Regions from separate parts of the Homo sapiens genome. Here all the other regions are linked to region 2. The links are contacts of gene promoters, found by promoter capture Hi-C in blood cells and fetal thymus (Javierre and others, 2016). All regions are on one chromosome and are shown on one strand. Each heading gives the region's core, a stretch centred on a gene start or on the middle of the fragment in contact. The rest is flanking DNA. Distances are from core to core; before and after follow the strand shown. Region 1 overlaps ZMAT2 (zinc finger matrin-type 2). Region 2 holds the start of TCERG1 (transcription elongation regulator 1). Region 3 holds the start of TAF7 (TATA-box binding protein associated factor 7). Region 4 overlaps G3BP1 (G3BP stress granule assembly factor 1). Region 5 holds the start of BRD8 (bromodomain containing 8).

Region 1 (2,700 bases), core at 97-2,596, 5.7 Mb before region 2:
CGGCATCCTTAGTAGTGACAGAGAAGTTAAGTAGAGTATTTTGCTGCTGTGCATTACCGCTATCAGTGACCCCCCTCTTTCCCTTGAAATTTCTTAAGGGAGAGAACATTCCTGGCCCAATCAAGACCCTCCCATATAGTCTGAGAAAAGCCGGGGAACTTTGCAGGATCTGTGATTGTTTCAGCTAGAGCTTAGTAGTGCTGTTTCTCTGTGCCTTGTACATCAGGGAGTTGGTGCTTCTCTCCTGTTTAAGAGATTGCATAAAGAAATGTTTTATTTTGTCATCTGTTTCAAACGTGTACATTCTTCTTTCCCTTTACCTCCAGGCCACCTTGCACTCACTAACTCTTTCATTTTTTATGTAACATGTAAAATAAATAGTGCTTGACATGTAACAGGCATTTCCTAGATGTTGGTCCCCTTTTATAAATTTGCCCAGCTCTCAGAAGGTTCCTTTCCGTTATGCCTAGGGTATCTGCCTGAAAGCATTCTTGAATGTCCTTGCTCCCGTTTTGAAAAAGTTGCTTCTAGTAATTCTTCAGAAATTCTCCCCCACAATTCAGTTAATCAATGAATATAAAACATACTGTTTTTAGATTTGCTGGCTTTAAAGTGGAGAAAAGCTGTAGAGTTGAGGATTGCTTATGATTTCTTCCTGTGTTGAGATTCTCCCCAGCTGCTACTTTAAGTGTCTGTTGTGTCCTTTCAGGAATGATTTTGAAATGAGTAAGACCTGAATTTTGGATTTCATGCATTTTTTTTCCTTTCTGGTTGAGGAACTATAATATTGAAGGGACTTCCTTCCCCATTATGTTTCAGGAAAACCAGTGCAGCCTGTCAAGCGAGAGCTTTTACGGCATAGGGACTACAAGGTGGACTTGGAATCCAAGCTTGGGAAGACAATTGTCATTACCAAGACAACCCCTCAATCTGAGATGGGAGGGTGAGTTGCTTATCATTTTTCCTCTGCAGCCAAGAATGCATCTAATAAGCCACCTATTTTGGTTTTAGGAAGTGTTAAGGAAGGTCCTTGGCCCCAGGATTACGTCCTTCTTGCCTGTAATTCTATCTTTATATTTGTTTTTCTGTGTCTCCCAAGGTCTCAAGTTGACATGATAGTGTCTCTAGGAGTGGTCACTCAGTGGGTTTCTTCATGTTATTAGCATTGGCTGGGCACAGTGGCTCACGCCTGTATTCCCAGCACTTTGGGAGGCCAAGGCAGGAGGATTGCTTGAGCCCAGGAATTCAAGACCAGCCTGGGTAACACAGTGAGACCCTGTCTCAATTAAAAAAACCAAAACAAACAAAAATCATACTATGAGCACTACAGCTACTACTCAATATAGTTTTTAAATTTTTTATTGCCATTGTACTTGTTATCAATTCTGATTTACTATTAATATTTTAAAAGGGATTATTTGATCTGTCAGAAGAAGAAATGAAGGAAAGGACTACTGAGGAGATTTCTAGGAGAGAAATTAGGTGGAGCTAGAATAGAGCCTAGGAGTTGTTAATGGTGAAGAAGAGGGGTTTGAGGTTCCAGACTAGCTGCAAAGGCTGTAGTTGTTATGGATGCCTGATTGTACACCTTCTTCCAAGACTATAACCTATAGGAAGAAGGGTCCTACAAGAGCTTGTCACCCTTTTGCCCCCCACTGCTTCTCTGTCCAGTTAGGTTTTCTGGCAGGAGAGCAACACAGATAGCAATGAGTGACACTTCTCTGAGCTGCTTAGTAAACCCACTGTTGTCCATTCCTGTCTGTATTAGTTATCTATTGTTATGTAAATTAACAAATTAACCTAAAGCTTAGCAGCATAAACTACACCACTCACAGTTTCTTTGGGTAAGGAATCTGGGAGTGGCTTACCTAGGTGGTTCTGGCTCAGGGTCTTCATGAAGCTGCAATCAAGGAGTTGGCAAGGTAGGTCTGCATTCATATGAATCTTAAGTGGGGCTGGAAGATCTGCTTCCAAGCTCTCTCACATGCCTGTGGTTTGGAAGCCTAAGTTCTTTGCCCCATAGACCTTTCTTTTTTCTTTTTCTTTTTTCTTTTCTTTTTTTTTTTTTTTCTGAGACAGAGTTTCACTCTTCTTGCCCAGGATGAAATGCAATGGTATGATCTCGGCTCACCACAGCCTCGCCTCCTGGGTTCAAGCGATTCTCCTGCCTCAGCCTCCCAAGTAGCTGGGATTACAGGCATGCACCACCTGATTTTTTTGTATTTTTAGTAGAGACGGGGTTTCTCCGTGTTGGTCAGGCTAGTCTCGAACTCCCGACCTCAGGTGATCCGCCCGCCTCGGCCTCCCAAAGTGCTGGGATTACAGGCGTGAGCCACCATGCCCGGCCACCCCATAGACCTTTCTATAAGACTGCTCACAATAAAGCAACTGGCTTCCCCAGAGCAAGTAACCCAAACAAAGACAGAAGGCATGGTTTTTAAAATAACCTAATTTTGGAAGATACTACTTTTGACATATTCTATTGGCCAAACAGACCAACTCTGGTACAAATTGGGAAGAGACTACACAGAGTAGGAATACCAAGAGGGTGGGGCTCATCCTGGGGCTGTCTTGGAAGATGACTGCTATACTCTCTCGAAAGCTAAGGCTTTATAGAAATGAAGGCTTAACACTTCTAAAAAGAAGTTTACCTAAAAATTTGAGTTTCTTGGTTGAAAATGATAAGATCCTTAAAACCAT
Region 2 (2,700 bases), core at 189-2,688:
GTGGCGCGATCTCTGCTCACTGCAAGCTCTGCCTCCGGGGTTCACGCCATTCTCCTGCCACAGCCTCCCGAGTAGCTGGGACTACAGGCGCCCGCCACCACGCCGGGCTATTTGTTTTTAGTAGAGACAGGGTTTCACCGTGTGAGCCAGGATGGTCTTGATCTCCTGACCTCGTGATCCGCCCGTCTAGGCCTCCCAAAGTGCTGGGATTACAGGTTTGGGCCACCGCGCCCGGCCTATACCATGCTTCTTAACCATGCATCAGCTGATGGTCATTGGGTTGTTACAATACTTTTTGGCTATTATGAATATTGCTGCTGTGAACATTTGTGCACATGTTTTTATGTGGATCCAATTATTTAGGCTTACAGTATTTAAGAGTGCTGCTTTGCTACTACGCTGACTGGGGTTAAGACCAGGCTCTGCTATTTAGTAGATGTGTGACCTTGGGCAAGTTACTTAACTTCTCTGTGCCTCAAGCTCATCTACAAACAGTGACTATGTTACCCACCTCCTAGCAATTTTTGAATCTTAAAAGAGTTAACGTACCTGACATACTTAGATCCGGGTTTGCTACATGGTTAGGTCCAAGTAAAATTTATCTATTAGTATTATTTTAATATTTTTACGACTTTAATAAAAGGGCTCATCTTCATTGTGCCTTTGAAACCCCAAATCCAAAACTTTTTTTTTTGTTAATTAGAAAAACTAAATAAATATTCAGAATTGTCTGGTATTCTGGGTGTGCTAATTTCAGACAAGCACATTTTGAGATCGAGGGAGACGTGGTTAAGCTGTAAATTGCAAAGAGGCTTGCCTTCGCCAATTTACCTTTCTTAATGCAGCAACTTATAACACCTATTGGCTTGCAACGGTTTAGTATAATTTGGGAGGTATTCTTGTAATTAATAATATATTATTTAATAACATGGATATAGAGCTGAGTGGTGACTTAAGACTCCTGCTACTGTAAAGCTAGGAAATAGCGGCTTTCCACAGCAACTGTGCAATCGGTTTAGGCGCGGCCCAGGTCGATTTTGATTGGCTTGCCCAGTGGAAATGCTCTCCGCCTGAGCTACTACTGGCCAATATGGCTCCACAATTGGCTCTCCTGGAAGCCGACAGACACGTGGCTACCGCAGGCTGAGCCGAACTTGGGAGGACTTAGTTCTGCTTACCGCGAGAGGGCGCCGGCGGTTCCTCACTGCTAAAATCTCATTTCCCATAAAGCCCCCGAGTCACCAATCAACTGGCTGTCTTCATACCGCTTTCAAAGTCGGCGGGCGCCTTGCCCAATAGCAAAGAACATATCGCCCCCATTTCGAAGATTGATGGAAAGTTTGACCAACCGCATCTCAGACTTCTGCTGTCTCCGCCTCTCTCGTTGGGGATTGACGATTTTTCTAGCCAATAGGAGACGTCGGGTCGGCGGGTGGATGAACGCGGCCCTCTGTAATGGCGGAGCGTGGCGGGGACGGGGGCGAGAGTGAACGATTCAACCCGGGGGAGCTCAGGTAAGGAACGCTGCCCTCCTTCACATCTCTGCTCACGAGAGCCCCAGAGGCTAGACGCTAGACCTGCCATGTGGAGATCCGGGGCGGACGGTGGGTAGCGGAGCCGGGCGGCCCGGGCCGGGACCGCATGGGGTTTAAGAAGGGGGAAGGGGAAGGTGGCTTGAATGAGAGCCGGGCCCGGGCTGGGCCAGGGCCTCCTGCGCGTTCCCTGGCTGCTTCCTAGTGCTTTCTTGGGGCCTCGCCGCCTCTCGCGGCCTGCAGCCCTCTGGCCGGGCGCGGTGCTCCCGCCTTTGGGCCCCGCCTCAGCCGCGTGTCGCCTCCGTCTCGGCCGACCTGAGTCTGTCCCCAGGCCGCGCTCCGCTGCGGGCCTGATTTTCCTCATCGACGTCTCTGCACTCCGCAGTTACTTTCCCTGTACCCCTCGCCACTTCTGGCTAAGCCTTCTCCACGCCCTCCGCGGCTCTTTGGGCTCCCCACGTTTGCCCTTTCATTTCATCCCCCTCATTGCTTGCCTTTCTTAACTTCTGTGGCTTTTCTTCCTTTTTTCATCCCTTTATTCCTTATTATCCTGTAGTTGTGAGTAACAACAACAGTAGCAACCCCTTATTAGGCACTTACCGTGTGCCAGTAAACCCTTTACTTAGGTTTGTCTCATTTAATCCTCACAACCACCCTTTGGAGTAGTTGCTATTAACATTTTGCAGGCCACAGACCAGAGGGGTCTTCAGTTGTTACTCGCCCATCTTACAGGTGAGATAACAGCCTCGTGGAGGTTGAGTCAGTAGAATAAGATTGCATAGGCGGATTTGTGGCTCCAGGAAGTGGCTTGAACTCAGGCAGTCAGGTTTCAGAGCCTGCAATCCCAATTGGCGTTCTATTCGTCTACTACTCATGCCATTTCCTTGAACAGTGCAGTGACCTTTTTTTCCCCTGGAACCTCAGTGTCTATGAGTTTGTAATTAAAATTTGGTAAAATGAGAGTGACCTGGAGAAATCTTTTGGTCAGTGGTTTTTGAGGAAAAGAGGTATTATGCTTTATGTGTATTTGGTACTTTGGTTTTTTTCTGTATGGGAGAAATGGCATTTCAGATGTTCAGCTCCCATTCTGAATTGTGCTGTTGTCAACGTTTGAAAATGAAAAAGAGCAGGGTAGATTATGAAGACTCTGTTGATACTGTCTTGAACT
Region 3 (2,700 bases), core at 155-2,654, 5.1 Mb before region 2:
ATCTCCCGAAGCTCATCATGTTCTAATGAGTCATGGCCCTGCCTGTGACCAGACATTCCTGGAGAAGAGATATCCAGGCCTTGATTTTCTGCCTCCTTTGTTTCATCTTCGGCAATTATTTCCCACCGAGTACTAACAGCTTCAGCATCTGTACTCAGCAATCGTTTCACTTCTTTTTCAACATCTGGAGATTCAATATATTTCTTCTTTGCTGTCTTCCGGAACCTTCTCTTCCTGACATTCTTTAGAGGCAGAGTAATTCCGTGGTTCCAGATAAACTTTTTCTCTTTGTCCTTATCCTTTTTCTTGCTTGCTTTAGGATCAGTGCTAGCAACTGGCTCCTCCACAGGAGGATAGAGATCACCATCAACTGTGGATACAAGCATCTGACAGATATCAGCTGTCTTGTAAAAAGTTTTTTTATCAATGGTTTTCAAGCTTTCCATAACACAGGGCAGGTCTACTAATTTTGAGGCCAATGGAACACGGTCCACTCTGACGATTCCATGACGCCCATCAGGATGTAACTCAATTGTCAGTCTGTCCTTGAGGTTGACATGACCAGACTGTACTGCCCTTCTCACAGTAGAGGCATATTCTGGAGGCAGACGTAAGATAAACTGGCTCTCCAGTTCGTGAGGAGCATCATCTTTGCTTTTACTCATCTTTATTTCCTTGTGATTCACTTCTCCAATAAATGCTGGTTACACTAAAAAGTTCCAGCTACTGCAATAGTTTAAAACACCAGTTTGCTATGAATTGAAATCTTTTAATTACAAGAAGTTCTCTGTAGATCAGCAGCTAAGCGTCTATTTTGCCTTAGTTTTTATTTAAGCTCCAAGTCTTTTCTCTAAATATGCTGTGACCGAATACCAGTCGTTAACACAAAGGCTTATTCACAGACTTAAGTTCATTAAATCAGATGCAATGCCAAGTCCCAACCTCTAGGTGCCGCTGCCGGACAACGCGGAGAGAGCTAGCTAGCTAGCTAGGGAACAGGAAAGCAAATGGCGGCTCCCCCGGAACGGTTTTCGGCCCAGAAAGCCCAGCAGAGATACTTTCAACTCACAAACTCTCCCGGAACAAAGACACTCAAAAAATCAGGGCTCAGCGAGCTCTCTTCGCCTCGGGTACTTACAATCCAGTGACGATTATAAGTTCAGTTTCACCGGGCCGGAGCGAAGGGAAGAGGAGGCCGCAAGGAGCCAAGCGGGAGAGAGCCGAGCGTCTCCTTGTCGTTTCCTTAATTCTTCCTGCCGCTTGGCAGAGTGATCCACTACCGATTACTGATGAAAGGGCCCGGGATGGGCAGCGCGAAATCTTGCCGAGAGGCGCAGCTCGCATCACCAGACCCCGCACCTCGCCGGCCCTCCGTCCGGGTCGCCTACCCAGCAAAAACGGAAGTGCTACGTCGCGACGCGGGGCGGGAGGCGGCTGTGAGTGACAGCCCCTCCGGGCGGAAGGGCGGAGCCCCAGCTAGCGCAGGCGCAATAGCGCAATTACGCTGCCCAGCGTGAAACTCATCTTTTCGCGAGAACTTGTTTTTCCGGGATGGAAATGACAGTGTTTCGGAAGAGCTGTTGGTTTCAAACTATTTAGAGCTTGGAAGTTCCAAGAAAGACACAGATTCGTCCCCCGCTAAGCCAGCACTTTTACGGGATCGCTGTGGGGCCGGATGGCTTCTAGACTTCCGGGTGATTCCGGGAGATGGGGGACGCCTTGCAGTAAGCGTCTTTGCTTCTGGAAACATCTCGGATGTTCCCTAGAGTCTAGCCTATCTGGTGCCAATACAAGAATGTGTAGCTACTATACAATGGATTTCAAAGTACCCAAATCAATGGAGTGAGGAGGACATGCAGCTTACTATATAAGTCTCTCTCTATATATATGTTTGTTTGTTTGTTTTGGAGATGGAGTCTCAGGCTGTCACCCAGGCTAGAGTGCAGTGGCACAATATTGGCTGACTGCAACCTCCACCTCTGGGGTTCAAGCGATTCTCCTGCTTCAGCCTCTTAAGTAGTTGGGATTACAGGCACGTTCCACTACCCCACCTAAGTTTTGTATTTTTAGTAGAGAAGGGGTTTCACCATGTTGGCCAGGCTGGTCTCGAACTCCTGACCTGAGGTGATCTGCCTGTCTTGGCCTCCCAAAGTACTAGGATTATAGGTGTGAGCCAGCGCGCATGGCCCAAAGTCTGTATTTTTAAATATAATTCCCTGTAGGGGAATTGTGCCTCTGGTTTTACTTGTGTTCTATAATACTTCTGGGGAAACAAGGGTGATTCCTTTTTATGTGCTTGATTTAGATGTAAATGTAAACAGAGAAGGAAGTGTTCTTTTGGACAGAATTGTCTGATAGACTGAGCATCTGGTTAAAGTAGATATAATTGAAGTATTGTTTCCTGTCTCTCATGTACAAGTAATTTTAAATTACTTTGACATTTTTTTTAACTCCACCTCTACTATTTTGCTGTTTTCTGCTTGTCTTTTCTATCAATAGTCAGGTATTCATCAACACATATTTTTAGTATTTTAACATAACTGGGTAACAGTTGGTACTTATTTCTATTTATTTCCATTTATTTTTAAAATATCTGGGAGAGCATCAAGGCCATTAATATTTCATTTCTATCCTCTAAAATATTAACAATTGCCCCTAAATTTAAGAGAATTCTCTTAAGATGTAATTAACATTTCCAAA
Region 4 (2,700 bases), core at 166-2,665, 5.3 Mb after region 2:
ACAAGGGTTGGAAGTGGGAATGTGACAAAGGAAAAGGGTTTGGGCTTCCTTTCTACGTGTACTTGTACAGGCCCTGGGTAGATGTGCCGCCACCGTAGCTTCTGGAAAAAAGTAGGGAAAACGATGAGTAAGTGCAAATGAACATGGACTGTGTTCCTCATCGGGTTTGAATCTCAGATTGCTGATGGGAAATTCCCGCCAGCGGGAAGTTAGGCTCCGGTTTTAGACGTTGAATTTTTTTTTCTCTACTTTTTTTTTAATTGGAGGAGACTTTTGCAGAAAGACCTTGAGAAGATTCACTTTATAGTTGAAGGGAATGAGGTGCAAAGCGACGAATTTAAGATCTCACTAGCATCTGTGGGTTAAAATACGGAATTGGAATAGAAAGGTTGGCGCCCAGTTACAGTATACTATTTGGACCTCTGTGGAGCGTGTCATGCTGGATGAATTACTGGTGTTGGAGATGTGTTGGAAAAAACAACTGTGACAGTCGAGATCTGTGGATGAAAGTTTGTGTACACTCCGTTTATTTAGCATTTACTCTGCTGGGTTCTTGTGTATATGCAGAAACAAGATGCTTTTCTTCAGGGACTGGAGCTTATATTTTTCTAGTAGTTACCATCTTTTAGATTATTTAAAAGCCAACATACTCCTTGGCTTAGTGAAATAAATCTTCTATGTTATAGAAACACTTCTATAAACATAAAGATTTCTATAATCGTGTTCTGGAAACCCTTTCTATAAACATGTTTCTATAACAGTATTATAATAATGTTCCAAGTAACATTTACTTGGAACTTTGCTGGTGTGGCGATTCCGGTTACTTGCCCTTACAGACTGGTTAACTATGGAATTAGCATTTTAACTTAGACTTAAAGTTGAGCAATTTAAGTTGTCAAATGGAAAAACACTAGAATGACCTACATTTAAACTGTTTAAGCTTGAGTCCAGCTAATTTTATTACTGCTTGAGGCAAAATAGAATGAAATTACCTTACACATTATTGAGGGAAAATTTCGTTAGTTTCTACTTAAAATATTAAAAAAATACAGTTCTTGGCCTCAGGCAAATGGTTATCACTTGGGCAGGAACATGAAAATTACGTGATTATTTCACAAACTGGTGCTCTAACTGATTACTTGTGCATTTATCAGGAACAAGTGAATTGAAGCAAATTGTGGTAATGTAAGGCTTGGCAAGGCTGCCCTACATCCCTACCAAGTCATACGTCAGTTTTGTTGGAGCTGCTTACCGGTACAAAAGTCTAAGCTTTTGTACCTCTTACAGGTAGAAAAGTAGACAGTTCTTTGTTTAACTCAGTTTGCTGTTCCTGAGCTGACACTGCACCAGGGGAACATTAGGAGATTTTGGTAATGTTTGTTTGTGACCTACTTAGAGCAGTTTTTCTTTTGTAACTTATGGTTTTTTTTTTTCCCACTCGTTCTAGTATTTTGCATAGAAAGTGAACGGCAGAAGGCAGTTTTAAGTTTTTGTAAAAGTTTGTGAATTTTATATCGTCCTTAGGACTGATGGGGCTAGTGTTAAAAGATAAAATTTAACATAAAGCTTACATTTGTGACTAAAGCCAATTTTATATTTTTTTTCTTTATTTTTGTCAGTCTGATAAAACTGCCCACTTGGTCTTTTAACATTTTGCAAATTGATTTTTTTTTTAACTTTCAGAATTTAAATAGGCATTGTATGTTTGTTTAATTATATTGTGCTTTGGCTTCCTTGGACGAAACTATTACTGACTTTACAAAGAAGAATGGATAATTGTGGAAGTAGGTAGGTCAAAAAAAAAAAGGAAAGCCTCGCCCGCCCCCCAGTAATTTGTCAAAAGCAAGTGGGAAAAATCTCTGGTAGTGCAGTACTGCCCTTCCAGTACTCCAGTACAAGCCCTGGAGTTGAATTTAGATTCAGCAACTATTATCTTACATGTAGTTGGTGATCACAATGTGGTGGCACACTAGGTTTATAATTTTATATCTCAGAAATCAGCTATTTACTTTTTTTAAAAAAGTATTCTTGGACATCCTGTCTGTCTTTAGTTGGGAAGGTCAAGTTGCAAGCCAGGTGATAGGGTTAAGAGTAGGAATAATTCACACACACGAATAGTGTCTTAATATTCTGTCTTACAAGGTGGAAAGCAATTTCAAAAAAATTGCCCTCACAGCCTGTAGCTTAGTAAATAAGGTCTTTAGGCGACTTTGTGATAGAGTCCCTCTTCTGTCAGGTGGCCAGTCTGTCATGTAATAAGTTCTTGGTATGTGTGTTGTATCTTAGGTACTTAATCAAAAGTAAAGATTAAAGATGATTGACAGAAATTTGGCTTCCTGGATGGTATACACATCTACTTAGTAGGGATGTAATCTTTGGTGGCTATTAACTTCACTGGCTATATAAAGCATCATTATGTATTTGTGTAACCTTTTGCATATTTAGAGAGTGCTTTCACACATCTTTGGTATTACCATACTTTTACTAAAAAGTGAATTGGAGCTCTGAAACCGAATTGTCAAAACTATTTTGAAAAGCATGTGGTACCTAATAGGGTACTATAGCCAGCTTATTTCCTTAATTGAAAAATCTTAGAGGGATTTTGAATCTGGAATGTATGAATGTGACACCTGCCTGCCCTTGCAGGCTTCTCCCATATGCTGTTTATGCAAAGCCATAGGCTGTGCCTTAAGTACACCC
Region 5 (2,700 bases), core at 201-2,700, 8.3 Mb before region 2:
GATTGAGACCATCGTGGCCAACATGGTGAAACCCCGTCTCTACTAAAAATACAAAATTAGCCAGGCATGGCCAGGCGCAGTGGCTCACACCTGTAATCCCAGCACTCTGGCAGGCCGAGGTGGGGGGATCACCTGAGGTCAGGAGTTCGAGACCAGCCTGGCCAACATGGCGAAACTCTGTCTCTACTAAAAAATACAAAAATTAGCTGGGCGTGTCCGCACCACTGCACTCCAGCCTGGGCAACAGAAGGAGACTCAGTCTCAAAAAAAGAAGAAAAAGAAAAGAAAGTCTACTTACAGCTTAATATGATTAACTATAGAAATCTACCGATGTGAAAGAGTATCTAACAATTTCTAAGACCCAGAAAAGCTGACATCCTAGATACCTTACCAATTTTGATCGCCACTTCTCATGACAGAAGATGCTAAACATAGCTTCTCTCGGATGGACCATGGCTCTGTGGGGCCAGTGCTTAGCAGCTTGTGTTCTGGGAAAGGGAGAAAAAAAAAAAAGCCTTGGAAACAACCACTGAGACTGTAGTGCTAAGCTCCAAAATCCCCAAAAAGAGGACTAAAAGCCTAATACAAAACATCCCAACTTGTTAGGACAAAGTGAGCTACTATAACCAAATCTTGATTTTCACCTCTCCAAGTGAAATATCACCAGTGACCGGGGTACCTATTCGTTGCATGTGAATTATTAACATTTTATTTCTTAAAACGCCATGGCTTGAAGCTCCGCTTTATTAAGAAACAGGGAATGTCAGATTAGGCAGTTCTCCCTAAAAGCCCAGTTTTAAGAATACTGGACTTTATTCCAGTTTGAACTTATTCAGGGCTTATTTCCCAGGAACCCGAGCGGCCAGCCCCTCCTACTACCCCGCCTCCCTCTTAGCATAAACTTGTTTACTTCTCTCAGATCCTCTACTCCAAATGTCGGGGGTAAAAGAGCTTTTCAGTCCAAAAAAAGAAAAATGGCTGAAATCCCCGAGATGCAATTTCCTGAGTGGCAAGAAAAGCTCATGGTTAAAAGACCCCACTTCCACTGCCTCACAAACGTCAGACAAAAAAATGAATGGCTCTTTGAGGTGCCGGTTACTCCGTCTGGCTCATAACATCTTTTCGTCTGCACGCCCAAGTTTCTAGAGTGCTTTTACGGTTAACCCGCAGAGTTCCTAACACACTAGGATTCACTAAGCTGCTTCTCTCACACCTCCGCTCTCTCCCTGAGAAACAAGACCCCAGATTTCTGGGCCCCCAAACGTTGGTCTTCACGATGCTGTAGAGCGCAGGTCTCTGAAAACCCTGGGCTCTCAAGCAACCCACTTCTCCCACTCCCTAAGCGTGTAACAAAAATATGGTGCCTAGCCTCGGATCTACAAAGGCCTTTCACGCAAAACCTGCTCAGATACTCACTGCCCGTTCCCGTCGCCATCTTGGCCCCGAAGTCTCCAACCCTGAGGAGAGACGGTCTGGAAGGGCCGAAACCCTGGAATTCTGGGAAATAGTGTACCGGCGTTGGTTCGCGGTGCCTCCTGGGAAATGTCGTTTTTCCCCTTAAGACAAAGCAAGCACCCTAAACCAGTTACCCTGTGCACTCCTGTTAAGATTGTTGCTAAGGAAGGACAGGAGTTGGCTGCTGAAGCCTCAAGATTTCCTTTAGGCTCTTAGGTAAGAAATGTCTAAGGTTCAAGGAAAAAGGTTAAGTTGGAAGAATCCCAGGCAAAATAAGTGCGAATCCACGACAGTTGGTAACCCGGACCCACATTAGAACTCAGAGGTCAAGCAGAAGCGAACGACTGGAATTCCAGTCAGGCCCGCCCCCTTTCCTTACGCGGATTGGTAGCTGCAGGCTTCCCTATCTGATTGGCCGAACGAACGCAGCGCGTAATTTAAAATATTGTATCTGTAACAAAGCTGCACCTCGTGGGCGGAGTTGTGCTCTGCGGCTGCGAAAGTCCAGCTTCGGCGACTAGGTGTGAGTAAGCCAGTATCCCAGGAGGAGCAAGTGGCACGTCTTCGGGTGAGTGTGCGGCTGTGCTGGAGCCCGGGTTACCAGCTCTTGCCCGCGCGGAATAGGCTTTAAGAAATCGGAGCTGCAGCCATCTGTTTTTCTCTTAATGCTGCATCTCTGTTCTCACGGTGGTCCTTGGGGTGAGGTTAGAGAAGGAGCCGAGGGATCCTGACACCACCTCCACAGCACCGGCGGGCGAGGTGCCCTACTTTAGGCGTAGCCTTCTGCTTTTGGAGCCAGATGTCTGTGGACTTCTGTTCGCGTTCAGAAATGCCGCCTCAAACTTCTCTCAATTGTTCATTAAGTGAACTTCTCTCATTCCCTTCCCCTTTGCCGATAATTGGAGGGGAAAAGAAGTAGGAAGCGGGACACGGTGTCCTGGGGCAAGGGACTTATTACCTAAAATTCGCGGCCCCTTCTGTCCCTAAAGGTTCTTCTCCCTGCCCACTTTTTGGTCTCTTTTTAGACCTAGGCTGCCCCTGCCGTCATGTCGCAAGGGATCCTTTCTCCGCCAGCGGGCTTGCTGTCCGATGACGATGTCGTAGTTTCTCCCATGTTTGAGTCCACAGCTGCAGATTTGGGGTCTGTGGTACGCAAGAACCTGCTATCAGACTGCTCTGTCGTCTCTACCTCCCTAGAGGACAAGCAGCAGGTAAAGGAACTGGGGAGTGGCTGGGGCGGAAAGT

What was found. Contacts are between HindIII fragments. The CHiCAGO score rates a contact against its expected background, and 5 or more counts as called.
Region 1: a fragment that was not itself captured here is called in contact with the fragment with the promoter of TCERG1 in region 2 in 1 of 17 cell types (fetal thymus); the score reaches 6.3 in fetal thymus.
Region 3: the fragment with the promoter of TAF7 here is called in contact with the fragment with the promoter of TCERG1 in region 2 in 6 of 17 cell types (total B cells, total CD4 T cells, fetal thymus and 3 more); the score reaches 10.6 in total B cells.
Region 4: a fragment that was not itself captured here is called in contact with the fragment with the promoter of TCERG1 in region 2 in 1 of 17 cell types (fetal thymus); the score reaches 5.7 in fetal thymus.
Region 5: the fragment with the promoter of BRD8 here is called in contact with the fragment with the promoter of TCERG1 in region 2 in 1 of 17 cell types (neutrophils); the score reaches 6.7 in neutrophils.

The regions. Positions count from the first base shown.
Region 1 is chr5:140,701,187-140,703,886 of GRCh38, forward strand. It overlaps ZMAT2 (zinc finger matrin-type 2), which reads left to right. Exons shown (of 6, transcript NM_144723.3): 3 at 820-943. Among named protein-coding and RNA genes, the nearest start is that of ZMAT2, 2.1 kb to the left of the region's middle. RefSeq lists an enhancer at 1,551-2,093. The HindIII fragment of the contact is 916 bases long and covers 889-1,804 here.
Region 2 is chr5:146,445,895-146,448,594 of GRCh38, forward strand. TCERG1 (transcription elongation regulator 1) reads left to right here and starts at 1,439. Exons shown (of 23, transcript NM_001382548.1): 1 at 1,439-1,514. The coding sequence starts at 1,456. RefSeq lists an enhancer at 1,102-1,809 and a silencer at 1,728-1,807. The HindIII fragment of the contact is 4,342 bases long and covers 1-2,700 here.
Region 3 is chr5:141,319,380-141,322,079 of GRCh38, forward strand. TAF7 (TATA-box binding protein associated factor 7) reads right to left here and starts at 1,405. Exons shown (of 1, transcript NM_005642.3): 1 at 1-1,405. The coding sequence starts at 665. RefSeq lists enhancers at 934-1,133, 1,714-1,773, 1,784-1,933. The HindIII fragment of the contact is 5,333 bases long and covers 437-2,700 here.
Region 4 is chr5:151,772,922-151,775,621 of GRCh38, forward strand. All of the region lies in intron 1 of G3BP1 (G3BP stress granule assembly factor 1), which reads left to right. Among named protein-coding and RNA genes, the nearest start is that of G3BP1, 2.3 kb to the left of the region's middle. The HindIII fragment of the contact is 297 bases long and covers 1,268-1,564 here.
Region 5 is chr5:138,177,180-138,179,879 of GRCh38, forward strand. BRD8 (bromodomain containing 8) reads right to left here and starts at 1,451. Exons shown (of 27, transcript NM_139199.2): 1 at 1,417-1,451; 2 at 392-488. The coding sequence starts at 1,435. It overlaps KIF20A (kinesin family member 20A), which reads left to right and starts at 1,933. Exons shown (of 19, transcript NM_005733.3): 1 at 1,933-2,023; 2 at 2,481-2,666. The coding sequence starts at 2,502. RefSeq lists enhancers at 1,401-1,695, 1,403-1,452, 1,593-1,762. The HindIII fragment of the contact is 9,650 bases long and covers 1-2,700 here.